3 separate regions of the Homo sapiens genome follow, and regions 1 and 3 are each linked to region 2. Evidence: promoter capture Hi-C in 16 types of primary human blood cells and fetal thymus (Javierre and others, 2016). All regions are on one chromosome and are shown on one strand. Each heading gives the region's core, a stretch centred on a gene start or on the middle of the fragment in contact. The rest is flanking DNA. Distances are from core to core; before and after follow the strand shown.

What was found. Contacts are between HindIII fragments. The CHiCAGO score rates a contact against its expected background, and 5 or more counts as called.
Region 1: a contact is called between a fragment that was not itself captured here and the fragment with the promoter of ASPRV1 in region 2, in 9 of 17 cell types (total CD8 T cells, naive CD8 T cells, total CD4 T cells and 6 more). The highest score is 9.4, in total CD8 T cells.
Region 3: a fragment that was not itself captured here is called in contact with the fragment with the promoter of ASPRV1 in region 2 in 2 of 17 cell types (neutrophils and monocytes); the score reaches 21.5 in neutrophils.

Annotation. Positions count from the first base shown.
Region 1 is chr2:70,195,681-70,199,264 of GRCh38, forward strand. No RefSeq gene overlaps it. Among named protein-coding and RNA genes, the nearest start is that of C2orf42, 6.5 kb to the left of the region's middle. The HindIII fragment of the contact is 1,775 bases long and covers 1,372-3,146 here.
Region 2 is chr2:69,958,921-69,962,942 of GRCh38, forward strand. It overlaps ASPRV1 (aspartic peptidase retroviral like 1), which reads right to left and starts at 2,711. Exons shown (of 1, transcript NM_152792.4): 1 at 1,169-2,711. The coding sequence starts at 2,516. The coding sequence ends at 1,737. PCBP1-AS1 (PCBP1 antisense RNA 1) reads right to left here. Exons shown (of 11, transcript NR_033872.1): 11 at 3,343-4,022. RefSeq lists a silencer at 2,597-2,891. The HindIII fragment of the contact is 12,271 bases long and covers 1-4,022 here.
Region 3 is chr2:70,102,996-70,107,058 of GRCh38, forward strand. It overlaps the pseudogene MRPL36P1. Among named protein-coding and RNA genes, the nearest start is that of PCBP1, 18 kb to the left of the region's middle. RefSeq lists an enhancer at 438-487. The HindIII fragment of the contact is 2,573 bases long and covers 846-3,418 here.

The DNA.
Region 1 (3,584 bases), core at 1,009-3,508, 240 kb after region 2:
TTCACCATATTGGCCAGGCTGGTCTCGAACTCCTGACCTTGTGATCCTCCCACCTTGGCCTCCCAAAGTGCTGGGATTACAGGCGTGAGCCACTGTGTCTGGCTGTACCCTTCATATTTTGTACCCTCTTCTTGTACTGTTCCGAATTACAGATTCTCTTCTTCAGCTGTATCTAATTTGTTTAGTCAGCCTATTGAATTTTTAATTTAAGCTATTGTATTTTTAATTTCTAGAGGTTCTATTAGTTTTTCAAAAATCTGCCTAATCATTTGACAGTCATTTCTTCCTTGTTCATATTTGTATTACATCTTTTATTTTTAAAGACATGAAATGTAGTTATTACAAATTCAATATGTGATTTTCTAAAGTTCTTGTAGGTCCAGTTCTGCTGTTCTTTGTTTCTGTTGGATCTCTTGTAGAGTCTTGTTTCCTCATGTGTTTCATAGGTTTTTTGTTTGTTTGTTTTTTGAGACGGAGTTTTACTCTCACCCAGGCTGGAGTGCAGTGGTGCAATCTCGTCTCACTGCAACCGCTGCCTCCTAGGTTCAAGTGATTCTCCTGCCTCAGCCTCCCGAGTAGCTGGGATTACAGGCATGCACCACTACATCTGGCTAATTTTTGTATTTTTAGTAGAGATGGAGTTTCACCATGTTGGCCAGGCTGGTCTCGATCTCCTGACCTCAAGTGACCTGCCCACCTCTCAGAGTGCTGGGATTACTGGCGTGAGCCACCGCGCTTGGCCGTGTTTGATAGTTTTTTATTGTGAACTCACACCTGATTATTTTGTTTTATTTTATTATTATTTTTTTGAGACAGAGTCTTGCTCTGTCACCAGGCTGGAGTGCAGTGGTGCGATCTCGGCTCACTGCAACCTCCGCCTCCTGGGTTCAAGTGATTCTCCTGCCTCAGCCTCCCAAGTAGCTGGGACTACAGGCATGTACCACCACACACAGCTAATTTTTGTATTTTTAGTAGAGACAGGGTTTCACCATGTTGGCCAGATGATCTTGATCTCTTGACCTTGTGATTCACCCACCGCAGCCTCCCAACGTGCTGGGATTACAGGTGTGAGCCACCACACCTGGCTTCAAATGATTATTTTAATCTGAGGTAATCCTGAGTGACCTCGGTGGAGGACACATTTTTTCAGAGAGGATTTTTGCATATCAAACTATATAAGGGATTCTTACTAATTGATAAAAAAAAACAGTGAAACAATCTAATGAAGAAATAGACAAAGGATATGAACAGATATCTCACAGAAATAAATACAAATGGCCAATTATCATGAAAAATGACTAACTTTACTTGTAATCAGGGAAATACAGCTAAAGAGATTATTTTACATTCATTGGATTGGCAAAAGATAAAAGCTTGATAACAACCAGCATTGGTGAAGGAATGTAAGGGAAATAAGAGCTTTCTGACATAAATGGTTGGAGCGTAAAACGGTATATGACCTTTTTTTTTCTGAGATGAAGTCTCGCTCTGTCAGCCAGGCTGGAGTGCAATGACCTAATCTTGCCTCACTACAACCTCCACCTCCCAGGTTCAAGCAATTCTCCTGACTCAGCCTCCCCAGTAGTTGGGACTACAGGTGTGCGCCACCACGCCTGGCTGATTTTTGTATTTTTAGTAGAGACAGGGTTTCACCATGTTGACCAACCACCATGTTGGTCTCGAACTCCTGACCTCGGGGGAATCCACCTGCCTTGGCCTCCCAAAGTGCTGGGATTATAGATGTGAGCCACCGCTCCCAGCTGGTATACAGCCTTTTTTTTTTTTTTTTTTTTTTTGATATACAGCATTTTAAGAGGGTAATTTGGCACTATACAATACAATTTTTACAATTCACATTTCCTTAACCCATTCAATTTCTAAGTATCCTAGAAAAACAGTATAGACATGCACAAAAACACATGAATTCTCTTTTTTTTTTTTCTTGAGACAGGGTCTTGTTTTGTTGCCCAGGCTGCAGTGCAGAGGCATGATCACAGCTCACTGCAGTCTCAACCTCCTGGACGCAAATGATCCTCCTACATCAGCCTCCTGAGCAGGTGGAACCACAGGCACATGCCACCATGCCTGGCTATTTTTTTTTAATTTTTTGTAGAGATGAGGTCTTGCTATGTTGCCCAGGCTGGTCTTGAACTCCTGGGCTCAAGTGATCTGCCCACCTCAGCCTTCCAAATTGCTGGGATTACAGGCATGAGCCACCGCACCCGGCCTGCCTCTGCCTCCTTGAACACTAATGATCCTGAGTTTTATCCACAGTCCTCATCTCACTTGGTGATCTCTACTCCAAGGGTTGAACTAACACGTAAACACAGACGATTCCCATTTCTATATCCAGCCCAGATCACCCTCCGAAATTCCATGTCATTACCTACTGGATATTTCTACCTGTGTCACCCACGTCCAATCTCACATATCGAAAGATAAGGCCAGGCGAGGTGGCTCACGCTTGTAATCCCAGCACTTTGGGAGGCCAAGGCAGGCGGATCACCTGAGGTCAGGAGTTCAAGACTAGCCTAGCCAACATGGCGAAACCCCGTCTCTACCCAAAATACAAAAATTAACTGGGTGTGGTGGCACATACCTGTAATCCCAGCCACTTGGGAGGCTGAGGCACGAGAATTGCTTGAACCCAGGAGGCGGACGGAGGCTGCAGTGAGCCGAGATCACACACTGCACTCCAGCCTGGGCAACAGAGTGAGACTCTGTCTGAAAAAAAAAAAGGTAAGACTAATTTGCTCTCATCTCCTGCTCTCTCACCATGATAGCTCCTGTCCTTACTCACTCTCACAAACATGCTTCTCTGCCTTCTCACATCCCAGTAACTAAGGATCCACCATGCATCTAACTGCTCATCAAGTCTGCAACCTGGAACACGTCTTGACTAAATACAAATTGGATCAGTGGCTCCCTGGGGTCTTCAGGATAAAAAAAGTTTAAATGACATCACATGGCTTAAAGAACTTGGCCCTGATTTGGTCCTTCAATGCCAGCTTTTTATTAACTTACTCCCAGTACTCCAGCTGGTAGTACTGTCCACACGAGGTGGAAAGCCATTTGGTCAAAACTAGATTGTTTGAAATAACAATTTAATTAACTCATTCATTAATCAATTAATTCAACATTTATTAAGCTTTATTATTTACCATGTACTGGATATTATGGCATTGAAGAAATAGTCACCAGGCCAGGAGCAGTGGCTCATGCCTGTAATCCCAGCACTTTGGGAGGCTGAGGCTGGCAGATCACTTGAGGGCAGGAGTTCGAGACCAGCGTGGCCAACATGGTGAAACCCCGTTTCTACTAAAAATACAAAAATTAGCTAGGCGTGGTGGCATGCACCTGTAATCCCTGCTACTTGGGAGGCTGAGGCAGAAGAATCACTTGAACCCTGGAGGTAGAGGTTTCAGTGAGCCGAGATTGTGCCACTGCACTCCAGCCTGGGAGACAGAGCAAGACTCTGTCTCAAAGAAAAAAAAAAAAAAAAAGGAAATAGTCATCAGTACTTTAGTTTAGTGGGGAGGACAGGTTTTAAATAAATAACTACATGAATAATTAAATAGAATTAA
Region 2 (4,022 bases), core at 1,461-3,960:
AGGTGCCCTGGGGCTGATGGAGCTAATTTCAGTTAAGATGCTTGGCTGCCCAGGGAAGGGGCCTCGGTAAACCCCGAGGATTAGGGGCTGAGCCATGCCTCAGTTCCCAGGAGAATCACAGCTGGAATCGGAGGGAAGAAGGGGCCAGGGACGGGCAGCTGATCCTGGCTCAGATCAGCTTCAAAAAGTCCAGGGGCTTCACTCCTGCCTTCTGTCTCTCCCTCAGGAGCTGTCCAGGTGGGAACTTCAAGAGGCTCATTCCACCCTGGAGGATGGAAAATGGTCCTTCATGCCTCCATCAAGAGGTCTGGGATCCCTGCACGTTCGAGTCTCTGACCTTGCGCCAATCTTCCTGGGCCCAAAGTTTGGAGGGTGCAGGCCACCCTCCCCTGAGAACAGGCTCGCCCGATGTGCTTGGTGGGGAGGCCTGAGATTTGGAACAAACTGGCTCTTCTGTGGAGACTTTTGTCCACTCAGCTCCTCCCTTTGAGTTTCAGATTCCCAGCCCTGCTGCACTCCAGAAAAAGAAACAGAAATTTGGAAGCAAATACGAGATGGACCCCTAAAAGAGATGCACACCCCATTCCCAGATCTGGGAATGTCCTCCCCTCCATCAGGTCATCTAGTTTCAGGCTCTGTTCCAAGTCCCTCCAAGAAGAAGCTGACCTCCCACCGCCGGGACCCTGCCTTGCCACAGCCTCCCCCGTCCTCCAGCATGCCCTTGGGCTGCCCCACACAGGTCAACACTTGTCTCCTGGCCCTGCTTTCTGCCTCCAAGTTCTCGCTCCTGGACAGCTGTAAGAACCTATTTGCCCAGCAGACACTTTCCTGTTTGTTTATCATAACCATAATTTCCCAATCCCCAATCAAGACATCTCACATAAAACTTTAGGGTCACTTTTGGGTATAGAGGCAATTTGTATGCTAAAATACTACAGATTGAAATAAGTAGAGGAATTATGACGATTCAAAATAATGAGAGCAATTCTGGAGGGAATAAGTCAAAATATTTTATGCTGAGACTGTCTTAGAAAATCCAAGACCTGTCATCCCTGTGTATATGTTCTTATACCTCCAGCTAGGCACTCAGTAGACATGTGAATCTCCCTTGTCTTTGATGCTGACTCCCTCTCACATTCCTCTCATCCTCAATCAACACATTACATGGTTTTTCCATGAATCAATCTTTATTGGTGTTTGCAGCAATTGAATTATTGGCATAAGGCACAATGGGCTTCAAAGCAAATGACAGAAAGAAAATACGATTGTACAGGTGGAAAGGCTCTTCAGGGAGGTGTCCCAGAGCAACTGTGACCCTCACAAAGACCCTGCAGCTAGGACCCAGCCCAACTAAGACAGGCTTTGAGGACCTGAGAGTGACCAAGCCATACCTCAGGGAATCTGAAGGGGTCCCACAGTTCTTTCAAAGACAAGCATTTCTAGCTTCCTTGGGAGCTCTTCCAGCCTTTGAGTCTTTGTCATCAACAGCAGCTTGATGACCATGGGGACCCTGTCCCTCTAAGCCAGCCTGCTCTCCCTCACCTGTGCCTGTTCAGTGGAAGCCTCCCCTACCAGGGGCAGATTAAGGCCCCTGCAGAGGGAGGCAAAGGGGAGAGAAGAGCAAGAGTTGATAAGCAGACTGGCCAAGCCCAGTGACCCCCATGAGGATATGCAACCCCCCCCACAGCGGTGGGTCTTCCCACCAATATTTAGGAGGTTAAAGAAAAGGTGGCTTCTCAGTGGGATAGCTCCTGCCGCCCTTCTTCTGAGGAGGGGTCCTCCTCTATGAGCTCCAGGTCAAACTCATCTTCCAGGGACCCTCCCACAGGCAGAAGGCGAAACTTCTTCCCTTTCAGGGTGCATGTGCGGTGCTCAAAGTCCAGGATAGCATTGTGGTCCTGGAGCACATCAGTGCCAATGATGGCTTCCTCGGCACTCGCATTGGCCACTAGGAACTGTGCCTTCAGCTTCAGCTTGCCTAGGGACACCGCTGTATCCCAGACACCCAGGATCTTCATTTCAGCACCATTGGCCACCTTTACCACATTCTCAAAGGGCTGCAGGGTGTCCAGATCGCCATCAGTGACCTCCTCCCACAAGTTTGGGTGGACCACAGAGACCTGGGCCCCAGAGTCCACCAGGAACCTCACGGGCACTTTGCCAATCTTCCCCTTGAGATAGTAGCCCTTACCCATGCTGTTGGCAAAGACGATCTCTTTGGGCAGGTGGCTGGGGGCAGCCCCAGGGACCCCAAAGGCCTTCAGGAGGGCCTCTTTCACAGTCCCATAGTCTCCCTGGTCCTGGGGACTGAGCCTATTGTAGACACCCAGGGCCTCTCCTCTGAGGGACTCTTTCAGGAACCTTAGCTTGGTGATATGGTCCCAATGGTTGAGGTCATTGATGACTTCAAAGCTGTGCAGCCAGAGGTTTGGGACGACATTGGCCCCATCAAAAGGTTCCGGGACGAAGGCATGCTGCCGGCGGCCTTCCTCACTCCTGGCTCCGCTCCCGGCCATCCTGCTGCTCTCCTCTGGAACCTCAGCAGCAACCCACGCCAAGAAGAGAAACCCACAGAGCAGTGTCGGCGCAATCACGCTGGAAAACGGGGCCTCTCGAAGCAGAGTGGGGATGACTTGCCCGGCCTTGGGCAAGCAGGAGGGAGCAGGCGCGGTCGGCTGGCTGACTGCTGGGGCAGAGGCAGGCAGTGCTGTGGCCTGTTCACTCTGCAGAGCCTTTTTGATGCCTAGGCTGGCCCCTGGGCTCCCCATTCTCCTTTGTTCTGGAAGCTCCGCCCCTCCTCACCCCGCCCTCCTGCCAGCATCCGGCCGGACTAGCAGGATGGGTGCCTCACCCTCTGCATCCATCCTTGGACCAACACCAGCCAGCCCACATCCCAAGAAAGGCCAGCCTCTGTTGAAGGGGGACTACCCTGTACCCTCCCTGGCCTGTGTTCCAGAATAACAGATGAGGACACGGAGGATGTGATGACATTCAGGTATTTGTCATCAGCCAGTGAAGGAAGGGGAGGCAGGGACCAGACGCCCATCAGCTCAGAGACCGGGGAAGCCGCCATTGGCCTCCCCAACAAGTGACTACTTTGAGTGGTCAAAGGAAAACAGTTTACATGTACTGAGCTCCTACCACATGCCAGGCACTGGGAAGTGTCTCACACACATTCTAAAGCAGGTATGGGATCCTATGGGATTTCCTGGAGAGGGAGGCAGAGGAGGGTTCCAGCATAAAGAATGCACAGAAATGGTCTTTTTTAAGTGAGTGAGGACACACACACACACACACACACACACACACACGTGCACAATCATCTTACATGGACTCAACTGCTGCAGTAATTTTCCTTCATTGATCACCCCTGATTCAGAGGCAGAGGGGTGGCCAAGCAACTCTGGGTAGGCCCCATACTGCACTCCATGAGCATTGTCTCCACCCTATCCACCCCTCTCCATTTCCAGGAACTGTTCCAGGGCCCCTTCCCCAGGCACTGCAGCACTTCCTCTCCCACTCCCCAAGCTGGTCATTTGTGGAAAGATCACGGGAAATTTCACTCCCTTTTCATTCTGAGAGGGAAAATGTCCACTATGTTGGTGATGCCAGTGGTGAGGACCTGGAGGGCTCTGGCTCTGTGCCCCTCGCTGCAGGGGTAAAGGGTAGCACGGGAGGACATCCAGTCGTCTACAGAGGACATCTGTGAGTCCAAGGGCTGGAGGCCTGACTTGGGGCTGTGCAGGGGCTGTTGAAGGGATCCACTTTTATGTCCCCATTCAAAGGTCACTCCATGGAGCCTTCTGCCTGTCCCTAGAAAGGGCACCCACTCCTCGTTGAGCGTGTTTTACGGTGTGATCTGGTGGTTTGTTCACAAGTCTGCCTCTTGCTATGAACCAGAGTCTGGGGCTCACAAACCTGGCATTTGTGATTGTCTCCAGCCCCCAGAACAACTTCCTCTGGGACCCAGGGGCTCTTTGCTGGGCTCCAGGCCTAGCTGTGTGCTGTCACCAAACAGGAGT
Region 3 (4,063 bases), core at 882-3,381, 140 kb after region 2:
ATCACGTTTCAGTGTAAATGAGTAACTATAGAAGACATTGCATTATCTTATTTCCAAAATGTTCCAATTAAAAAACATTTTCCTATTAAAAAAAAGAAAATAGTTTTGACCTCTCAGACCCCTGAAAGGATCTGAGGGCGCCCTAGGGCCCCCCACCACTCTTTGAGAAATGCTACTCTACAGAAAGATTTTACCAAAGTGTACTGTCATCACTGTGCCCCTTTTTCTGTACCTTCACCAACATTGGGCATCATCTTGCTTTTTTTTTTAGCCTTTGCTGATTTGTTAAACAAAAAGCAGGATCTCTTCGTGATTTTAATTTGCATTCTGAAAGGTTCATGATTTTTGAATTTATATTTTTTCTTTTATAAACCACCTCTTTATATCCTTTGCATGTTTTCTTTCTGGGATGGGCATTTTGTCTTATTTATTATAAGAGCACTGTTGTTGTTTTTTTTTCTGGCTCTATCCCAGGCTGGAGTGCAGTGGCGCGATCTTGGCTCACTTCAACCTCCGCCTCCCAGGTTCAAACGATTCTCCTGCGTCAGCCTCCCCAGTAGCTGGGACAGGCGCCGGCCACCACGTCCGGCTAATTTTTGTAGCTCACCACTGAGAACAAGGTGACAAACATGGAGTTTATTGTACCTGTGTCAGATCAGGATTAGAAGACTGGAGACCTGTGAGTCCCCTGTTCCTCACAGGGGAGGAAGTGGCCCATCTGGGTGGGCTTCTTGGCCTCAAGCCAATGCTGTGATCCCCAGTAGGGGGCTGTCTCACTGTACCCTAAGGTGGGGCCAGTTTATACCCAAAATTTTAACAAGGGATTTGGGTATCCAAGATGTTAAAGCTTTGTTAGGGGAAAATAGGCTAAGCCCTCATGACCCATTTCTTCAGAAAAGATGTTTTAGAATAAGAAAAGGAAACTAGAATTTAACAGTCTGACAGGATATTCTTGCTAACCACAAATTTACAGAATTATAGTTTAGCCATAGAGGTCTTCTCCTTTCTCAACTTTTGCAGATCTCTCCAGTAAATGCCTCTACTGCTTGACTGCTTTCTGAAATAGGAAACCATTATAAAGTAGAATTTGTGTCCAAAGTGACTAGGCCCAGTTAGCTGGGATTTTCTCCATTTCAGTGTTGTTTCCCCCATCCTTAAGCACACTGGAGATTTTTCTCTGCCAGTTTGGCAGGTGAAAAAAATGGTATAGCATTGTTTTAATTTTCATTTCTTGGATTACTGGTGAGTAAAAAGAAATGTTATGTATCTCTCAGCTGTTTGCATTTCTCCTTTAGTGAATTGCCTATTCGTATCTTTTTCACCTTTTTCTATTGGAGTGTTCGTATTTTTCTTAATGATTGAGGATCTCGTTATACAGTAAAATATTAACGCTTCGACATATAATGCATTTTTTTAATGTGTCAGTTTTCTTTTAACTTCTGCTCTGCAGAAGTGTCTAATGATTAAGTAGCTAAATCTATCAATCTTTAACTTTATGGTTTCTGTCTTTAAAGTCAGGTTTGGAAAGTCCTTCCCTAACTTCAATAATTGTTTTTCAAAATTTCCTCTTTTTTCCTCCTAGTATTTTATATTTCCATTTTGTTATACTATTTAAATCTAAACCATCTGACATTTACTTGGGTATATATTATATATGATGGGAAGAGCTAGTAATTTTTTTTCCCCAAATTGCAGGCTCGTTGTCCAATGATATTTATTGAATAATCCAAGAAGGGAAAATATGTGGTCCGAGTGAATCTGTCTCCCCTTCCCGGGCCCCCGGAAGACATTTCTAATCAAATGCAGAACTCCTGGCTAAACTCAGACTAGGCCTCACAGCCCGATTAGAACTGCAAGCAGCTACCTCCAACCTACGAGATTTGTCATCAAGATGAAACATTTTGTCATTCCCTAAGTAATCTATCCTTTTTCCTATTGATGTGTTACTGACATACCTGTCTTTTCTTTCTGTGTTACTGACATACCTGTCTTTTCTTTCTGTGTTACTGACATACCTGTCTTTTCTTTCTGTGTTACTGACATACCTGTCTTTTCCTGTGCCAGCTCCACACTGTTTGGTTATCACTTCCAAGTACTAAATGGTAATGACTGGTAGCACCAGTCTTATACCATTTTTCAACATTTTAAAATTATTTCCTCAAACAAAAGTCAGACTCAGAATATGTCAGAAAATATTTAAAAATAAAAAATAAAATTATTTTTTCTGATTTAAACTTTTGATTTTTATTACATCAAAGTATTTCCAAAATAAATTAAAATTTAAAATTCATATTAGATTTTCCAATCTAGGTATACATAGTGTTTCTTTCCATTTTTAAAGATTCCCTTTATTTCTCTGAATGTTTTTTTTTCATAATGTCTTTCACATTACTGGTCGACTTTATTCCTGCATATTTCATATTTGTGGTTGCTATCAGAAGTGGAAGTTTTGGCAGGGCGCAGTGACTCACGCCTGTAATCCCAGCACTTTGGGAGGCCGAGGTGGGGGGATCACTTAAGGTCAGGAGTTCGAGACTAGCCTGGCCAACATGGTGAAACCCTGTCTCTACTAAAAATACAAAAATTAGCCTGGCTTGGAGCTGGGCATCTCTAATCCCAGCTGCTAGGAAAGCTGAGGTAGGAGAACCTCTTAAACCCAGGAGGGGGAGGTTGCAGTGAGCCAAGATCACACCACTCCACTCCATCCTGGGTGACGGAGTGAGACTGTCTGAAAACAATAAATAAATAAATTTTAAAAAATAAAAGAGTAAAAGAAGTGGAAGTTTTTTAAATATAACATCTCATTTCTCACTCTGTCACCCAGGCTGGAGTGCAGTGGCATGATCTCAGCTCACTGCAACCTCTGCCTCCCAGGTTCAAACGATTCTCCTGCCTCAGCCTCCCGAGTAGCTGGGATTACAGGGGCGTGCCACCATGCCAGGCTAATTTTTGTTGTTGTTTTTGTTTTTGGTTTTTGAGATGGAGTTTCGCTCTTGTTGCCCAGGCTGGAGTGCAGTGGCGCGATCTCAGCTCACTGCAACCTCTGCCTCCCAGGTTCAAGCAATTCTCCTGCCTCAGCCTCGCGAGTAGCTGGGATTATAGGCATGCACTACCACGCCCTTCTAATTTTGTATTTTTAGTAGAGACGGGGTTTCTCCATGTTGGTCAGGCTGGTCTCGAACTTCCAACCTCAGGTGATCCGCCCACCTCAGCCTCCCATAGTGCTGGGATTACAGGCGTAAGCCACCATGCCTGGCCTTAATTTTTGTATTTTTAGTAGAGGTGGGGTTTCACCATGTTGGCCAGACTGATCTTGAACTCCTGACCTCAAGTGATCCTCCCACCTTGGCCTCCCAAAGTGTTGGGATTACAGGCGGGAGCCACTGTGCCTGGCTTTGTTTCTTATTACTAGAATGTAAGCTTCATGAGAGCAGAGTCCACATATCTTTTGTTCATAACAGCCATAGAGCTGGCCGGGCATGGAGGCTCACACCTGTAATCCCAGCACTTTGAAAGGCCAAGGTGGGCGGATCACGAGGTCAGGAGATCGAGACCATCCTGGCCAACATGGTGAAACTCCATCTCTACTAAAAATACAAAAATTAGACAGGTGTGGCAGCACATGCCTGTAATCCCAGTTACTTGGGAGGCTGAGGCAGGAGAATCACTTGAACCCAGGAGGCAGAGGTTGCAGTGAGTTGAGATCGAGCCACTGTACTCCAGCCTGGAGACAGACCTAGACTCCGTCTCAGAAAAAAAAAAAAAAAATAGCCATAGAGCTTAAGAAACAGTGCCTCCACATTGTAGTTTCTCAATAAAAGTTTTTAAATGAATGAAGGAATAATGGCACAAAGCAATGCTATTATTTTAGTGTTATTAATTTGTAACAGGCGCCGGGCGCAGGGGCTCACTCATGCCTGTAATCCCAGCATTTTGGGAGGCCAAGGTGGGTGGATCACCTGCACTCAGGAGTTTGAGACCAGCCTGGCCAACATGGTGAAACCTCGTCTCTACTAAAAATACAAAAATTAGCCAGGCGTGGTGGCGTGTGCCTGTAATCCCA